Regions from separate parts of the Homo sapiens genome. Here region 2 is linked to region 1. The links are contacts of gene promoters, found by promoter capture Hi-C in blood cells and fetal thymus (Javierre and others, 2016). All regions are on one chromosome and are shown on one strand. The core of a region is centred on a gene start or on the middle of the fragment in contact, and the rest is flanking DNA. Distances in the headings are between cores, read along the strand shown.

Evidence for each region. Contacts are between HindIII fragments. The CHiCAGO score rates a contact against its expected background, and 5 or more counts as called.
Region 2: a contact is called between a fragment that was not itself captured here and the fragment with the promoter of WDR64 in region 1, in 3 of 17 cell types (non-activated CD4 T cells, monocytes and activated CD4 T cells). The highest score is 6.8, in non-activated CD4 T cells.

The regions. Positions count from the first base shown.
Region 1 is chr1:241,650,938-241,653,733 of GRCh38, forward strand. WDR64 (WD repeat domain 64) reads left to right here and starts at 1,344. Exons shown (of 28, transcript NM_001367482.1): 1 at 1,344-1,692. The coding sequence starts at 1,548. The HindIII fragment of the contact is 1,763 bases long and covers 106-1,868 here.
Region 2 is chr1:241,559,421-241,562,250 of GRCh38, forward strand. It overlaps KMO (kynurenine 3-monooxygenase), which reads left to right. Exons shown (of 15, transcript NM_003679.5): 6 at 1,245-1,332; 7 at 2,747-2,830. Among named protein-coding and RNA genes, the nearest start is that of KMO, 28 kb to the left of the region's middle. The HindIII fragment of the contact is 1,628 bases long and covers 727-2,354 here.

The sequences.
Region 1 (2,796 bases), core at 94-2,593:
GCATGAAGTGTGTATTCAGTAAATATTTCCTAGATGAATTAATGGTGAATGCATTAGAATTGTAGGAAGAGTGGTTCTCCAGACATCACTGTACAGTGGTTTGAAAGCTTTAAAGGAAAAAGGAGGAGAAACAAATGGGGTTGGGGGATTTTTCTTTAAATAAAATCTTACTGCGCTCTCCTAACAGATAGTTAGAGGTGGACACCAAGAAGACAGTACTGGAATTGGAGGTGCTCTGAAATGCCATCTGCTTCATCTCTGAATGCAAGTTCTTGAAGAATGTTTTAAAAGATGGACTACCAAGGGGTAGGAAATTTATCTAACTCACCTAAGCCATAGGAAGTTAACTAATTGTTGAGAAACATTAAACAACTTCTCCTTCCCATAAAAAGTTGAAAATTGGAAAACCGGAGTCAATAGCATTTGGACTAAGTCGGATTGGAGATTGCAATGACTGGGAAGGAGATGTGCAGAAAGGCCTCTTCTAATTCATCTGACCTCTTACCTTGAAAAGCTGTCCTCATAATCAGAAGCCACTCCTTCCTTATCCTTGGCTCACTTTATTATTTCAATCGAAGGACAATGCACAAAGGAAGAAGAGCATTTGTATTCCCTATGACCTCTAAAAATGTTTGTGGTAGAAATGACAGGTGCTGAAATACATTTCATCTTTAGAAGTTCGAATTTCCATATCCAGTACAGTGGCAAGAATAAGTGTGAATATTACTTTTTTTTTTTTTTGAGAGGAAGTCTCACTCTGTCACCCAGGTTGGAGTGCAGTGGTGTGATCTCAACTCACTGTAACCTCTGACTCCCAGGTTCAAGTGATTCTCTTGCCTCAGCCTCCTGAGTAGCTGAGATCACAGGTGCCCGCCACCACATCCAGCTAATTTTTGTATTTTTAGTAGAGACGGGGGTTTCACCATGTTGGCCAGGCTGGTCTTGAACTCCTGACCTCAGGTGGTCCACCCACCTCGGCCTCCCAAAGTGCTGGGATTACAAGAATGAGCCGCCGTGCCTGGCCAAACTTTACTTTCCGCGGTATTGTGAGGAAGGCAAAAGGTTTGAGGTGAGAAGAGATACACGAGGGAGAAAGTATTACCCAGTTTTCTTACTTGTTATTTACTCATTCCTTTTCCCTCTCAAGCAGTATACACAACACACACATGTGCACGCGCACACACACACACAGTCTGTGGGGAAAAAAATATCTCAATCTCCTCCTTATGAAGGAAGTAGGATGTTACAGAGATATTATGATGCAATGAGGACCCTATGAAGGACACTGATGACATTGTGAGGTCAGGATTTTTACTGAAATGTTTGTCTGTATGAAATGCATCAGACCTAAATCAGCTTTCCTCCCTGCTAACATCCTAGTGGCAACTCTTACTCCTACCCGCACTATGGGATTTTAAGATCAAAGGAATTAGACCTAGGGCAAAAACTGAGACAGCAGGGAGGCACTGTAACAACTGGAAAGTTTTCCAAATTGGTAAACTTGCAGTATTCTTTCTGTACAGAAGTAAAAGATCCCCTATGTCCCTATGGATATCAGGAAGGAAAAGCGTCTCAACATGGCACTTCAGATGAGCAATTTCAAAAAGGCTTTGAACAGGTTTGAAAAATTGGTTGAACAAACAGCAGCCCAGAAAAGAGATGAAAGAGCAGGCTTATTTATCCATAAAGAAGGTAAGATCAGTGATTACACGATAGTCCAATTGGGTCTGTTGGTTAGAACTGGAAAATGTTTTAAGCCATCAGAGAGAAGCATCAGAGCTTAATGTGAAAGAATGGGTGCTGAAAGGGGATGAAGACCTCAGTTCTTGTTCTTTCTCTGTCCCTAAATAACAAAGCGGACATGAGGAAGCTTTTGTTTTGTTTTGTTTTTGTTTTTGTTTTTTTTTTTTACTTCTCTGAACCGAAGTTGCTTCAATTGTAAAACTATGGGATTGGATTAAATGACGTCCAGTGTTCTTCTGTAGACGCTGCCATTTGATGGCTCACTGGTTGACCTGGGATGCTCAGTAATGTATAGCACTGCTTTTTCTTAGCCTAAAGATATCATGAGACCATAAAGACTTTCATAAGAAGTGCAGCTTCCTGCCTCACCATGATTCCATTGTCTTGGCCACTCTCCATATCTCTAGGCAGGAATGATCTTGAGGATGCAAGCTAAGGAGAATATGGTGGACAGTGGTCTTACAGGAGGATTTGCAGCAGAGATGCCAGTGCATAGACAAGATTCAAGGGGAGTGGTGTAGTGTACAGCTTTGGCGTATTGAGGACAGCTGTGAAAAATAAAGCTACATGGCAGAGTGAAAGACTAACAGAACAAACCCTGCTGTTGCAATGAAAGGAGCAGAGCCCATATAATTGCTAAAGGGATAGTATAGCCAGCCTCTGAGTGTGCCAGGCTGCATAGTAATTTGTAAGTGAAAATCTTGACTTTGGGTGTTCAAACCCAAGCTGGTATTAATTGAATAGTATTTAATAATTTATAGTCATGTTAATCAATGTCATTATGTTCATTTTATTTGTGGAAAAAATGGGAGCTGAAGATAAATCATTTGCCCAAGTTACCCAAATTCTTTTCTTTTCTTTTCTTTTTTTTTTTTTTTCTGAGACGGAGTTTCATTCCTATTGCCCAGGCTGGAGTGAAATGGTGCGATCTCGGCTCTCTGCAACCTCTGCCTCCCAGGTTCAAGTGATTCTCCTGCCTCAGCCTCCCAAGTAGCTGGGATTACAGGCACCCACCACCACACCCGGCTAATTTTTTGTATTTTTAGTAGAGAC
Region 2 (2,830 bases), core at 291-2,790, 91 kb before region 1:
TATACTTATGTAAAAAATAAACATAATTTTTTAAAAGTTTTTTTCACAAACACATGTTATGTTTCTAAAATATATCCTTAGTATATCAGGTCAATTCTGATTACTTCAAAGTTATTTGCCAAACTACTTCTTCTACATAGATGAATTTCTTTGGTTTAGGGTCTCTCAGATTTTGCAAGAAAGTTAAAATCTTCAAACCCCAAATCAAACTGAAACAAAAAAGAGTAAAATAAGACAAGATTGAGATGAAGAGAGGAGATAAGTACAGGCAGGAATAGAACTCCTGCCTTATTTTCCCCATTTTTTTCAAATTCAACATTCTTTTTATTTACGTTTTTGACATATAAAAACTGTACATAATTAATGTGTACAACTTGATGAGTTTGGTCCTTAATTTTTTCACTTTGTGTGATCTCAGGCATTTTACCTTTACTTCCAGAATCTTAGTTACTCCTTTTTTAAGATGAAGGATTTTGAACTAAATCATCTCTGAAGTCTATTCCAGCTCTAACACCTGTATTCTGATTTATACCTTTAAGAACAATAAATAGGCTATATTTATAGATGAATACATGAGCATTAATAGGGACAAAATCACATTTTACTGTTGTAACAAGGGCATAATTAATAGTTCATAAATTGAAATTCACTCAATTCTCTAGAGTGCTAGCAGGCAAAACAGAAAATTACGAAAATAATTTGTTTCAGTTTATTGAGAGGTTTCAAAGCTTCTTACTCATTTTCCCCCTAACTATTCCAGTGTTTGATTTCAAAGAGATTTAAAATCAACAATCTCTATTTGTGACAACTTCAATCAGAATTCCAGAAAACTAGCTAAAAAGAGATATAGAGACATGCGTAATATGAGGAAAGGAGTTTGACTGAATATTTCCAGTCACAACAAAGCCTCGGATTAGAGGCGACTTCTGAAATATGTGATGCTTGCTTCTTTCCCAGGGTGCTAATAATTACAGCAATGCAAGAGTTTGCACAATGGAATCAGTTGGATGTTTTCTTTTTGAGATGAGGATAATTGATTTTTATTCATCTGTTTTACTACCAAATTATACTGAAATAGTTACCAAACAGTTGTCAAATTACCATTTAAGTGAACTTATTTTTACATTGTTATGAATAAAATTCTCTACCATACTGTTCCCAGAAAACAATTACTATTTCAATTTGATTAAGTGAAGTAAGAATTGAGATTTCATTTCTGTTTGCCTCTTTCTCCATTTCCTCAGCTGCTGAGAAATACCCCAATGTGAAAATGCACTTTAACCACAGGCTGTTGAAATGTAATCCAGAGGAAGGAATGATCACAGTGCTTGGGTAACTACGGGTCAGGTTTTGGACTTCAGAGGTGAAAGCTGGGAGTGGAGAATTGTATCTGCAAACTTTGTTCTTTGGCTCTTTTGAAAGAGTTAAAAGATTATTGAAAGGATCATCCAAATAGTTTCTAGATTCAAGGAATTTTAGATTGCAAATAGGCCCTGATGGCCATCTGAACACCAATGCCAATAATTCTTAATTCTCACACTTGCTCACCTTCCTACTGTACTGTATTCCACACTGGTGACTCTAATGTGCTTCAAACTCTCTCCTCTCTCAAATATACGTGACCCTCCACTGCTCTCCTCCTGTTCTCTTTCCAGGTGCTATTTCTCTGCCTTTCCTTGGATGATTCTATTTCCTCTAAGGTTCCAAGCCTCATATCCCACTCTTGCGATATGCTATGGATCCACGCTCATGGGTTCAACAACCACATCTCTAAGATGAACATTTCCAGTCCAAGCCTCTTTCTTCATTCTAAATCCTTATAGAAGCTCAAATCAATTTATGTTAACTTCTCATCAAACATCCTTGCTGGAACATCTTGCCATTATCTCAAACATATCTAAAACCTTGATCACCTACTTCTCCCAAATCACATCCCATTCCTGACTTCCCCAGAACTAATGCCTGAATAATTTGAATCATTCATGATGTGTTCTTTCCCCTGTCCTCTCCCATTAAATCTATAACACTCCCCAGTCTATCCTACTTTCTACTGGCTTCAGAGTCTGTCTTCCTCCTTCTAGCTGCAGGACAGTACTTCCGGCTCTCATTCCTGCACATGTAATATAATGTGTTGCCATCACCTCATCCCTGTTTTCTGCTCCCTTTGGCATTCGGCCTTCTCTTCAAACTGCCAAGGAAGTTTTCTTAAATTGCAACTCTTCATACATCATTCCCCTAATAGATAATTTCAGTTTCCCTTTTGCCAGAATAATGTTTTAAAATCTTTTATCTTGACATTCAAGATTCTCTTCTTTTCCCCTTCCTTTCTCTCCCTACCTTGTATTCTTTTCTTAAGCTTTTCTTCTAATACCTGTGCTCAAGACAAATGTATTGTTCTTAGAAAATCCTGTGGTTGTTCATACATTCATTCGTACACTTGGAACACTTGCCCTGTTTTCAAGATTCTCCTCCTTCATGCAGAAATCTCAAATCCTGTCACACTTCTGTGGCCTACCAAGTCTTTATTAATCAATATGGTGTTGTGCTATTCTCATAAGCAAACTTATGACTGGGACAAGTGTTTTCATCTAAATGTTACATCTATTAACTCAAAGCTCCAAGTCAAACATGTGAAAGTGAGCTTTCTAAGTTATCTATGGAGCCACTACTTCTCATACCCAGAGGTACATCATCATTTTCACCACTAGACATATTTTTCTTTTGGATGTTTTGTTCTATTTTTCAGATCTGACAAAGTTCCCAAAGATGTCACTTGTGACCTCATTGTAGGATGTGATGGAGCCTATTCAACTGTCAGATCTCACCTGAT